Linked DNA regions of Homo sapiens: region 1 is linked to region 2. The links are contacts of gene promoters, found by promoter capture Hi-C in human tissues and cell types (Jung and others, 2019). All regions are on one chromosome and are shown on one strand. Each heading gives the region's core, a stretch centred on a gene start or on the middle of the fragment in contact. The rest is flanking DNA. Distances are from core to core; before and after follow the strand shown.

Region 1 (6,499 bases), core at 2,592-5,091, 86 kb after region 2:
GGTGGTATAGTCGAGGGGCACGAGCTGTGGGGCCAGGTCCTGGTAGCGATAGAAGAGCCTGATGTGGGGAGGAAAAAGCTGGGAAAGACTGGGAGCAGGGAGCAGGCAAGACGCTTGTCCCTTCTTTGTTTTTTGAGACAGAGTCTCGGTCTGTCACCCAGGCTGGAGTGCAGTGGCACAATCTCGGCTCACTGTAACCTCTGCCTCCCGGGTTCAAGCAATTCTCCTGCCTCAGCCTCCCAAGTAGCTGGGATTACAGGCACACCCTGCCACGCCCGGCTAATTCTTTTGTATTTTTAGTAGCGACGGGGTTTCATGTTGGTCAGGCTGGTCTCAAACTCCTGACCTCAGATGATCCACCTGACTTAGCCTCCCAAAGTGTTGGGATTACAGGCGTGAGCCACCGCACCTGGCCAAGTCCCTTCTCTTTCACATTCACAGCTGCTCACTGCACACTGAGGTATACTGGGTCCCCAAGAACACTCAGCCCTGGGCCTGGACCTCAAGCATACAGAGCCTGACACAGGCACCCCTAACCTCCCTGGGGGCAGGGTCAAGGTGCAGAGAGGGCCACAGGACAAAGGGAGACTGGACTGGGGGAAGCAAGCTAGCGAGGAGAAGGGGGTTCCTGGAAGAGGGGACATTGGTTCTGGGCTTTGAAGCATGAGTAGGAGCTTCTAAAGCAGATGGAGTTGGGAGAAGGGAGGGTGCTTATGGCCAGATCACAGCAAGCATTCAGAGAATCCTATATAATCCACACATCTCTGGATATTGTCATGTTATCAGCAAGACCCTGCCTCCAAAGATACCTTCACTTTCATACCTTCCCTTCCTCTCCTTATAATGGGAGGAAGAGGCCGGATGCAGCGGCTCATGCCTGTAATCCCAGTACTTTGGGAGGCCGAGGCGGGTGGATCACCAGAGGTCAGGAGTTCGAGACTAGCCTGGCCAACATGGTGAAACCCCATCTCTACTGAAAATACAAAAAATTAGCTGGGCGTGGTGACGGGCACCTGTAATCCCAACTACTCGGGAGGCCGAGGCAGGAGAATCACTTGAACCTGGGAGCTGGAGGTTGCAGTGAGCTGAGATCGTGTCACTGCACTCCAGCCTGGGCAACAAGAACGAGACTCTGTCTCAAAAAAAAAAAAGAAAAGAAAAAAGAAAGAAAGAGGCCGGGCGCGGTGGCTCACGCCTGTAATTCCAGCACTTTGAGAGGCCGAGGCAGGTGGATCACGAGGACAGGAGATCAAGACCATCCTGGCTAACATGGTGAAACCCCGTCTCCACTAAAAATATAAAAATTTAGCCAGGCGTGGTGGTGGGCGCCTGTAGTCCCAGCTACTCCGGAGGCTGAGGCAGGACAATGGTGTGAACCCGGGAGGCGCAGCATGCAGTGAACCGAGATCAAGCCAGTGCACTCCAGCCTGGGCAACAGAATGAGACTCGGTCTCAATAAAAAAAATAAATAAATAAAAAATAAAAAAGAAAGAAAGAAAAGAAGAAAGAAAGAAAAAAAAGGAGGGATTCCTCAATGGGGCAGAGCAGAGACAAACAGCTAATAGTCACATTTTTTCTAAAGGGCAGACAAAAGATATTTTGCAAATAACTGAATACCACACACACTATCCAGATTATAAGGCCAGTTCTCCACTCAGAAGCCCTCACCTGTGACACCATACCTTCATTAGGGCATGCTGAGCAGCAGCCTTGCAGAGACCATCCTTGGTGGGTCTGAGGTCCCCAAGCTGCTAGGGACTGTCTCTGAGAGAGACATGAGTCCCTAGGTCATATGATGACTAGGAACTCAATGAAGGTGGGGTGGGGAGACCTAGAACTTTCATCCTGACCACTCAGTTCCCTGTCGGGGTCCCATCAGGGAATACCCTGGGTTTAGGTTTCTGTGTGGCTCTGAGCATGTTCCTCTCCTCTCCCTCTCTGTGCCTTGGTTATTCTATCTGATAAGCAAGAAGCTTGGGACAGACAAAATGTCTGTCCTTGGGGCCTTGGGGCTCTGTGCATTTACCCTTCAGCCTGGGATCAGCCCCGCCCTGTCTGAGCCTCAGTTTCCCCATCAGTAATTTGATCGTGATGGCCGAGGTGACCCTGCAAGCTGTCCTCACCCAAACAATGGGGCTCACTAGTAAAAGGTGTGGCCATCAATAATGGATGTCCTGTTACTACACAACTGGGGCCTTGGCCCCGATCACACTGCAGCTGAACCCTGGCCAGCTTGGGTTTCATAGCTCCAAGTTCATGGGTCGGGGCCCCTGGGCAATGGCCCCACAGGCCGAGTGATGATGTGGGATACTCATCTGTGCCCATCGTGCTGGGTCACGCCAGGGACCTGCAGCAGCCTTGGGCCACCTCCTCACACCCTCATCTTAATGCCAAGCCCACAACCCAGACTGGGCTCTGGACTTTGCACCTGGGCTCCCAGCCTCAAGTCCCAGTCTCAGGAGAATCTTTATCTTTCATTTTGTTTTTCTGAGGCAGAGTCTAGCTCTGTCACCCAGGCTGGAGCACAGTGGCGTGATCTCGGCTCACTGCAACCTCCACCTCCCAGGTTCAAGCAATTCTCCTGCCTCAGCCTCTTGAGTAGCTGGGATTACAGGCACCCACCACCTCGCCCAGCTGATTTTTGTATTATTAGCAGAGATGGGGTTTCACCATGTTGGCCAGGCTGATCTTAAACTCCTGACCTCAGGTGATCCACCCACCTTGTCCTCCCAAAGTGCTGGGATTACAGGCATGAGCCACCGCGCCCAGCCTCAGGAGAATCTTTCTAACGTGCTGATGGTCTCTCCCCTGCTCATGCATGCTCCATAGCTCCCTGCCACCCTTGGGAGAAAGCCCAAGCTCATCAGCCTAGAGACTGGGACAGTATGACAAGATGTGACTTGTCAGCTTCTCCATCTCTGCCTCTGTCCACTGACCACACCTGCCCCCCTTCCCCATTTGAGTCCCAACAAATTGGAAATACCAGTTGGGCATGGTGGCTCACACCTGTAATCCCAGCACTTTGGGAGGCTGAGGCAGGGGGATCGCTTGAGCCCAAGGGTTTAAGACCAGCCTGGGCAACATAGTGAGAGCCCCATCTCTATAAAAAAATACAAAAATGAGGTACATGTGGTGGCTCGCACCAGTGGTCCTAGCTACTCGAGAGGCTGAGGTGGGAGGATCACCTGACCTTGGGAGATCGAGCCTGCAATGAGCCATGATTGCACCACTGCACTCCAGCCCAGGCAATAGAGACAGACCCTGTCTCAAAAAAAAAGAAAAGAAGGAAGGAAGGAAGGAAGGGAGGGAGGGAGGGAGAGAGAGAGAGAAAAGAGAAAGAAAGAAAGAAAGACTACTTACACACACACACACACACACACACACACACACACACACACACACCAAATTGCAAATATCCTCCAGCAATGAATAGAAAGTTGTTTTTCCAGATCTTCTCTCCCTTCCTCCCTGGACTGACCTCATGATCTCCTTCCTTGTGAAAAATGTGCAGTCCTGTGGAGAGAGGTGTTGTCTTAACCCGAACCCTGCCTCTGGGGCCTCCTCCCACGGCCTCCTCCCTCCACCCCACACTCACACAGATGGCCTGATGCTGCCACACACAGAGCAGAACCAGGAACCCAGGCGGACGGTACACCCAGATGAAGGCATTCTGTTCCCATTTCCCAGACCACGGAACCAAAGTTGTCAAACCCACTGAGGACCCATCCTGCCCCCCTCTACCTGATACGCTTCCAGCTGCTCGTGTGTGAAGACTGTCTGCTTGTTGCCCATGGTGTGAACCACAGCCCAGACTTGGGGATGCACCCCAAAGGCTCCCAGCTTCCTCGGGGCCACACGGGTTGCCAGGCTGTTGTGTACCAGTGTCTGGGCAAATCTCCCTGCCCTGGCTGTCACCCACCCACCTACGCCATCACCCCCTGCTTGATGAGACTCAAATTACAGCCAGGCTCTCTGGACAACAGCCTGAATGTGTCCATGGGTAAGGATAAGGGCTGTGGGATGTCACAGAGAAGACCTCAGTGGGGAGGCCACATCTGCCACCACAAGGTGAGGCTGGGGTTATGGGGCACACTCAAGAGACAGGCAGGGTATACAGAAGGGCTATGGGCACACTGCAGCTCAAATCCCAGCTCTCTGCCCACTAGCTGTGTGGCCCTGGGCAAGTCACCTGACTTCTCTGAACCTCATTCATGAGATGAAAATTACATTATACCTACCTCATAGGGTCATTCTCAGGATCTGAGATTTAAAAAAAAAAAAAAAAGGTTTTGACTGGGCAAGGTGGCTCACACCTGTAATCCCAGCACTTTGGGAGGGCCAGGCAGGCGGATCACCTGAGGTCAGGAGTTCAAGACCAGCCTGGCCAACACGGCAAAACCCCATCTCTACTAAAAATACAAAAATTAGCTTGGCATTGTGACACATGCCTGTAATCCCAGCTACTCCAGAGACTGAGGCAGGAGAATTGCTTGAACCCAGGAGGTGGAGGTTGCAGTGAGCCGAGATCCCGCCATTGCACTCCAGACTGGGTGACAGAGTAAGACTCCATCTCCAAAAAAAAAAAAAAGGTTTTGGCTGGGCGAGGTGGCTCATACCTGTAATCCCAGCACTTTAGGAGGACAAAGCATGAGATTCACTTGAGGCCAGGAGTTCAAGATCAGCTTGGGCAGCATGGCAAGGCCCTATCTCTACTAAAAATACAAAAATTAGCTGGATGTGGTGGTGCATGCCTGTGGTCCCAGCTACTCAGGAGGCTGAGGTGGGAGGATTGCTTGAGCCCAGGAGTTTGAGGCTGCAGTGAGCCATGATTGCATCACTGCATTGGGAACATAATGGTGAACAAGCTAGATGAAGTTCTGGGGTGTGCATTGACATTATTATTTTATTACATTTTATTTTTTTGAGACAGTCTCACTCTGTTGCCCAGGCTGGAGTGCAGTGGTGTGATCTCGGTTCACTGCAATCTCTGCCTCCCAGGTTCAAGTGATTCTCCTGCCTCAGCATCCCAGGTAGCTGGGACCACAGGTGTCCACCATGCCAAGCTAATTTTTTTTGTATTTTTTTTTTTTGAGACGGAGTCTCGCTCTGTCACCCAGTCTAGGGTGCAGTGGCGTGATCTCGGCTCACTGCAAGCTCCACCTCCCGAGTTCAGGCCATTCTCCTGCCTCAGCCTCCCGAGTAGCTGGGATTATTACAGGCGCCCACCACCACGCCTGGCTAAGTTTTGTATTTTTAGTAGAGACAGAGTTTCACTATGTTGGCCAGGCTGGTCTCGAACTCCTGACCTCAGGTGATCCACCCGCCTCGGCCTCCCAAAGTGCTGGAATTACATGTGTGAGCCACCTCGCCCGGCCCAAAGGGCAGATCTAATGTAGCAGCTACCAACTTTATTAAGGCCCAGAATCCTCTTGGGTGGAGAATCTGAGAGTCTAAATTTCTTAGCCTGGCCCTCCATGCCCTTCTCACTTTGGGTCTCACCTGTGTTTTCTCTACCTGGCCTGGACTATTGCAATGTTTCCCAGCAGGCTTTCCTGCCTCGGCCTCATCAAGCATCCTCTGCCAAATCTGTGCAGTCATCTTGTAAAATGTGACCCTGATCAGGCTTGAAAGATGCCTCAAGGATGACTTTTTTTTTTTTTTGAGACAGGGTCTCACTCTGTCACCCAGGCTGGAGAGCAGTGATACAATCATGGCTCACTGCAGCGACCCTCCTTCCTCAGCCTCCCAGGTAGCTGGCACTAGAGGCACATGCTGCCACATCCGGCTAATTTTTTTTTTTTTGTATTTTTTGTGGAGACAGGGTCTGTCTATGTTGCCCAGGCTGGTCTTGAACACCTGGCCTCAAGTGATCTACCCACCTTAGCCTCCCAAAGTGCTGGGATTACAGGCATGAACCACCATGCCCAGCCATCCAAGAATAACTTTCAAAAAATAAACAATATCAAGTGTTGGTGAGGGTATGGAGCAACTGGAATGCTCATACATTGCTGGTGTTGATGCAAAATGGTATAGACACTCTGGAAAATAGGTTGGCTGGGTTTTTTTTAAATAGAATTAAACTTAACCTTACCACAAGATTCAGGGCCTGGTATGGTGGCTCATGCCTGTAATCCCAGCACTTTGGGAGGCCAAGGCAAGAGGACCACTTTAGCCCAGGAGTTGGAGACCAGCCTAGGCAACATGGTGAAGCCCCATCTCTACAAAAATACAAAAATTAGCCAGGTTTGGTGGTATCCAGCTACTTGGGAGGTTTGCTTGAGGTAGGGAGGTCGAGGATGAAGTGAGCTATGATCACTCCACTGTACTGCACTCCAGCCTGGGAGACAGAGTGAGATCCTGTCTCAAAAAAAAAAAAAAAAAAAGACTCCTGGGTGTTTACCCAAGGGAAATAAAAACCTATGTTCAACTGAGAGTGACCCCTAATGTAAACTATCCACTAACCACTGTGGGTGATAATGATGTATCAGTGTCAGTTCAT
Region 2 (6,512 bases), core at 249-2,748:
ATGAGGAGAAGATGGAGATTCAGGAGATGCAGCTCAAAGAGGCCAAGCACATTGCGGAAGAGGCTGACCGCAAATACGAGGAGGTGAGTGGGGCTGGCAGATGGCGCAGCAGCAGGAAGTGGGAGGAAATGCATCTGCTGAGATAGGGAGGACACCGGGGCCAACGAAAGGAAGCTCTCGGTTAGGTCAGCTGTCCTCCTGCGTGAACATATGTTTGTCCAGAGACAACCACTTGGCTAGGAAACTATCTCCCACGATGCCAGAAAGTGCTGCGGACGCTTGTCTAACGTAATGGGAAAACCGAATGATCAGCTCACTTGTGTCGTTAGCTGGGAGTTTTGGCACAGTTGGGCAAAAATGGAGGATTGTGGTCCCAAGCCATGGAGTTTCAGACCATGCAAGCTCAGGCCCTCCTTTGCCTCCCTCGATGGCTCGGCTCTTCCCTCCCGCCTCTTGTCTGCCTCGCTCCTCAGGCTTGAGGAAGAGAATCAGGATTTCCTCCAGGCCCCAGGATGGCTCTTTCAGTTGAAGCGCCAGCAAAAGGCCAGGCGCGGTGGCTCGTACCTGTAACCCCAGCACTTCGACCGAGGCGGGAGGATCACCTGAGGCCAGGAGTTTGAGACCAGCCTGGGCAACATAGTGAGACCCCATTTCTAAAAATAATAATAATAATAATTAGCTGGGTGTGGTGGCATGCACCTGTAGTCCCAGCTACTTGGGAGGCTGAGGCAGGAGGATCGCTTGAACCTGGGAAGTCAAGGCTGCAGTGAGCTCTGACCACGCCACTGCACTCCAGCCTTGGAGACAGAGCAAGACCCTCTGTCAAAAACATAAAAGGGCTGGGCATGGTGGCTCACGCCGGTAATCCCAGCACTTTGGGAGGCCAAGGCAGGCAGATCACCTGAGGTCAGGAGTTCATGACCAGCCTGGCCAACGTGGTGAAACCCTGTCTCTACAAAAAATACAAAAATTAGCCGGGCATGGTCGTGCATGCCTGTAAGCCCAGCTATTTGGAAGGCTGAGACAGGAGATTCACTTGAACCCAGGAGGCAGAGGTTGCAGTGAGTCAAGGTTGAGCCACTGCATTTCAGCCTGGGTGATGGAGCGAGACTCTGTCTCAAAAGAATAAAAAAATAAAAAAGAGGCCAGGTGTGGTGGCTCATGCCTATAATCCCAGCACTCTGGGAGGCCGAGGTAGGTGGATCAGGAGGTCAGGAATTCGAGACCAGCCTGGCCACTACGGTGAAACCCCATCTCGACTGAAAATACAAAAATTAGCTGGGCGTGGTGGCACGCGCCTGTAGTCCCAGCTACTTGGAAGGCTGAGGCAGGAGAATCGCTTGAACCCAGGAGGTGGAGGTTGCAGTGAGCCGAGACTGTGCCACTGCACTCCAGCCTGGGCAACAGAGGGAGACTCCGTCCCCCTGCAAAAAAAAGAAACACCAGAAAAACCCATGTTGCAGCTGGTCTAGGGGTCTGGGTGGGGCATCATTGGGGGCTGTCTGCAGTGGATGGGAGAGGACACGGCTGGTGGGGATCGGGCTCAGCTGGGCCTTTCTGTCTCTGCAGGTAGCTCGTAAGCTGGTCATCCTGGAGGGTGAGCTGGAGAGGGCAGAGGAGCGTGCGGAGGTGTCTGAACTGTGAGTGGCAGAACAGGACTGAGCGAGGCTGGCTCGATTCCTGGGGCGGAGTGGGAAGGAGCTGGCTGTGTTGGGAATTGGCTCTGACCGGGGTCTCTGCTCAAGTGGACGGGCGTCAGGGGCTCATGGCTCATCTTTTCTCTTGGCTTCTGTGACAAAGAGGTGGTGACTTGTTCTTACTGCCATGGGAAGCACTGCCCACGTGTTGACCCTTTCTGCAAAGATATGAGGAAATAGGAGTGAGACAGGAGGCAGCAGGGAAGCCCAGAAGTCCCATTTTCCCAGAGAGGATATCTCAGGGGGCTGTGCCATCTTAACAGAACACTGACCTGCTCCAGAAGGCAGGCTCCCCCGGTCAGTATGTAAATGCTTTTGCTCCTGTCAGTGTTTGGCCGTGACACATTCCTGGCGGGAAGGTGAGAAGCTTAACCAGAATCCCACAAGCAAGCACCGAAAAACAAAACACCTGTCCTCTTGGCCCCGGGTGAGGAATTCAGCCCCACAGAGCATCCGGGAGTGCTGAGAGAGATCTGGTTTCACAAATCCACTCCGGGCTTCCTTCCCGGAGTGTCCCCTGCAAACTCCCATTGCTCTCTGCCCGCCTTCTGCCCTCAGTCCCATTCTTACACCTTCCGGAGTCGGCCTCATCAATCATAGATTTCACAAGTCCTTGCAGCCTTACCCTTGGCAAAAGACCAGGAGTGTTTTCCAAGCCCTCCAAATACTCTTCGGGCGCACCTCGCCTCTGCCTGGTATGATAAGCCTTTGATAAGCCCATAGTATCACACTGCAGAAAAATCCATTAACATTTTCTCCCCACATTCCTTCTGCCCCCCACCGGGGGAGCTGTGTAGGTTTCTCCTTTGGAAAATTTATTGTTGGGGCGATTGCTATTATTGCCGGCTGTAAGGGAAGATAAGACACAAAAATCCTTTGTCTTTGTGCAGAAAATGTGGTGACCTGGAAGAAGAACTCAAGAATGTTACTAACAATCTGAAATCTCTGGAGGCTGCATCTGAAAAGGTAGGTGGTTGGCTTGAGCTGGAGGGTGGCTTGCTGGACTTTGTTCTTTTCTTCTCCCGAGGGATGCAGGAGCCTGTCAGGTTATGGGGAATCTGCCCTTTATTTAACAGTAGCGTTGGTGCCTGGCAGCCAGGGTTTTTCCCCTACAGAAAGAGCTGGATTTCTCCTGCACACTCTTGAGTCCTCTTCCATGGGGTCTGAGCACCATCTTTGATCTCCATCTCAGGAGGATAGAGATAGAACATGAGGCTCTTCTTAGCGAGATCTGAGCATAGTTGTATAAATAAATACAGAGCCTGCCTCTCACCTGATTCCCCTGGTTCCTCCAGAAATACCATCTCAAAGGTATAGCAATGATCAGAGGTGGAATTGGGCTTTTTAGTTTGAAACAGCACCCAAAGCAGTTGCTACGTGGCAGCTACGTCGGGAACAAAGGACACACTTCCACGGCCGAACCCCACTGAATTTCCCAGCCTCTTCCTCATTCTTGCTCCTGCTTTTGCAGTTTCACAGACATTCTTTGTTCTCCCATCACCTCCACCCCCCACTTTTTTTTTTTTTTTTTTGAGACAGAGCTTCGCTCTGTTGCCCAGGCTGGAATTCAGTGGCATGATCATAGTTCATTGCAGCCTTGAACTCCCAGGCTCAAGCGATCCTCCCACCTCAGCCACCACCTGCTATTCACTCAACTGGGTGTGGCTTTCCTTTTGCTTGATAAACCCCTATTCAGCCTTTTTTTTTCTTTTCTTTTTTTTTGAGACAGGGTCTCACTCTGTCACCCAGGCTGGAGTGAAGTGGCGTGATCTCAGCTTACTGCAGCCTTCGACTCCCAAGTTCAAGCAATTCTCCCACCTCAGCCTCCCGATTACACGCTAATTTTTATAATTTTTGGTAGAGATGAGGTTTCACCACATTGGCCAGGCTGGTCTCGAACTCCTGATCTCAAGTGATCTGCCCGCCTCGCCCTCCCAAAGTGCTGGGATTACAGGCATGACCCACTGCACCTGGCCTAGAGATGAGATCTTGCTCTGTTGCTTAGGCTGGAAGTGTAGTGGCGTGATCATAGCTCACTGCAGGCCCCAAACTCCTGGGCTTAAATAATCCTATCACCTCAGCTTCCTGAGTAGCTAGGACTTGCAGGCATGTGCCACTACTCCAAAACTGTATTTTTTTTTTTTTTTTTATAGAGCACAGTCTATGTTGCCTAGGCTGGTCTTAAACTCCTGGCCTCAAGTGATCCTCCCACCTTAGCCTCCCAAAGTGCTGGGATTACAGGCGTGGGCCACCGTGCCTGGCTAATTTTTCTAGTTTTTGGTAGAGACAAGGTTTCATCATGTTGGCCAGGCTGGTCTTGAACTCCTGGCCTCAAGTGATCCTCCCACCTTGGCCTCCCAAAGTGCTGGGATTACTTTGGGAGGCCGCCGAGCCTGGCCTCCTGTTCATCCTTTGAGCTTCTGCTTAAACATCACTTCTGAGAGTCCTTCTCTGATTTCTCATCTAGGTTAGGTATTTCTCTGCTGTGTAGCCCTGTCTATACTTTTGCTGGCATTATGATTTCTTACATTTATTATAGTTACTCCATTAATTGCATGCCTTCCTTGCTAGATTGTAAGTTGTAAGGACAGGAACCATGTCATCTTGTTCAGAGTTGTGTCCCTAGTACTAGCATTGTGCCTGGCATATATCTGTAGTGTGTGTGTGTAATTTTTTTTTTTTTTTTTTTTTTAGTAGAGATGGTGTTTCACCATGTTGCCCAGGCTGATCTCAAACTCCTGGCCTCGAGTGATCCACCTGCCTCTGTCTCCCATATGTGCCAGCCCTGGCATATATCTGATACTAGGATGTGTAAGGAATGAATCCAGTTGGTGTGTGTATGCCAGACACTGCCCCGGGCCAGGGGGATAGATGTAACACCACTAATACCTCAGCTGCTTTGTTTTGTTTTGTTTTGAGATGGAGCCTTGCTCTGTCGCCCAGGCTGGAGTGCAGAGGCACGATCTCAGCTCACTGCAACCTCCACCTCCTAGGCTCAAGCAATTCTCCTGCCTCAGCCTCCTGAGTAACTGGGAATACAGGCGCACACACCACGCCCAGCTAATTTTTGTATTTTTAGTAGAGACGGAGTTTCACCATGTTGGCCAGGCTCGTCTCAAACTCCTGACCTCAAGTGATCCACCCACCTCGGCCTCCCAAAGGGCTGGGATTACAGGTGTGAGCCACTGTGCCCAGCCTGGCATCTGCTCTTGAAGAGCTCAGAGTCGAGTCTAGTGGAAGGGATTGACAAAGTCACAGAGTGCTTTGGGAATACAATAGAGGGACCTTGGTAGGTTGTGAACGGTGTCACCAAGGAGGCGACATTTAAAACAGCTGTAGGTCCAGCACGGTGGCTCATGCCTGTAATTCCAGCACTTTAGGAAGCCGAGGCGGGAGGATCGCTTGAGCTCAGAAGTTCGAGACCAGCCTGGGCAACATGGAGAGATCCCGTCTCTACCAAAAATACAAAAACTAGCTGGGCATGGTGGTGCATGCTTGTGATCCTAGCTACTTGGGAGGCTGAGGTGAGAGGATCACTTGAGCCTGGAGGGCGGAGGTTGCATTGAGCCAAGATTGCCCCACTGCACTCCAGAGTCAGGCTTCAGTCATGACTTGATCACTTAATAGCCATGTGACCCTAGGCAAAATAATAACTTCACCTTTCTGTGACCCTTTCCTCCCCTATAAAATGGGATTACAGATACCAGGCTGTGATGCCATTAACTATGTCTGGCCCATGGTAAGCAGCTAATAAGTGTTAGTTATTATTGGGAGGCCGAGGCAGGCGGATCACCTGAGGTCAGGAGTTCGAGAGCAGCCTGGCTGGCCATCGTAGCGAAACCCCATCTCTGCTAAAAATAACAAAAATTAGCTGGGCATGGTGGTGGGCGCCTGTAGGCCCAGCTACTTGGGAGGCTGAGTCAGGGGAATTGCTTCAGCCTGGGAGGCAGAAGTTGCAAGTCACAGTGAGCCGAGATCGTACCACTGCACTCCAGCCTGGGTGACAGAGCAAGATTCTGTCTGAAAAAAAAAAAAAAGAAAAGAAAAGTATAATTTCTGATGGGTCATCATGGGGAGGGGAACATTCCATGCTAAGGGGTGCATTCATGGACAGGGACTGGGACTCAGGAGTCCACAGATTATGATCAGGGAGTGCCTGTCACCCTGGGGAAGGTGGTGGAGAATGGGGTTGGAAATACAGAGGGGGCCTTGAGTAACAGATTCCCAGTTATCTCCCTTTCTTCGCCATACTTTTTATCTCAAGTTCTCAGTTTAGGCCTTCTGATCAATACCATCCTACAGGACTCTCCCCAACATCCTCCACATTTCACACATATTTCTTCTGCTGGGGAAAGGTGCCTGCCTCTACTCTGCCTACTTTTTTTTTTTTTTCTTTTTGAGATGGAGTCTCACTCCATCGCCCCAGGCTGGAGTGCGGTGGCGCCATCTGGCCTCACTACAGCCTCCACCTCCTGGGTTTAAGCAATTCTCATGCCTTAGCCTCCTGAGTAGCTGAGATTACAGGCACCCACCACCACACCTGGCTAATTTTTGTATTTTTAGTAAAGACAGCGTTTCGCCATGTTGGCCAGGCTGGTCTCGAACTCCTGACCTCAAGCGATCCACCCGCCTTGGCCTCCCAGAGTACTGGGATTACAGGCGTGAGCCACCGTGCCTGGCCTGCTTACTTCTTTTTATGCTTCTTCCTCCTTTTTTTTGAGATGGGGTCCTGCCCTGTTGCCCAGGCTAGAGTGTAGTGGTCCAATCAGAGCTCTCTGCAGCCTTGAATTCCAGGGTTCAAGCCATCTTCCCTCC

Evidence for each region. The method cuts DNA at HindIII sites, captures the fragments that hold promoters and counts their contacts. A contact is called where the count stands out against the background at its distance.
Region 1: a contact is called between the fragment with the promoter of CIB3 here and a fragment that was not itself captured in region 2, in 4 of the 25 tissues and cell types used here (dorsolateral prefrontal cortex, lymphoblastoid cells, small bowel and 1 more).

What each region holds. Positions count from the first base shown.
Region 1 is chr19:16,169,684-16,176,182 of GRCh38, forward strand. It overlaps CIB3 (calcium and integrin binding family member 3), which reads right to left and starts at 3,842. Exons shown (of 6, transcript NM_054113.4): 1 at 3,742-3,842; 2 at 3,479-3,513; 3 at 1-58. The coding sequence starts at 3,792. The HindIII fragment of the contact is 31,728 bases long and covers 1-6,499 here.
Region 2 is chr19:16,086,458-16,092,969 of GRCh38, forward strand. It overlaps TPM4 (tropomyosin 4), which reads left to right. Exons shown (of 8, transcript NM_003290.3): 3 at 1-83; 4 at 1,570-1,640; 5 at 2,588-2,663. Among named protein-coding and RNA genes, the nearest start is that of TPM4, 13 kb to the left of the region's middle. RefSeq lists an enhancer at 31-80. The HindIII fragment of the contact is 7,259 bases long and covers 1-5,128 here.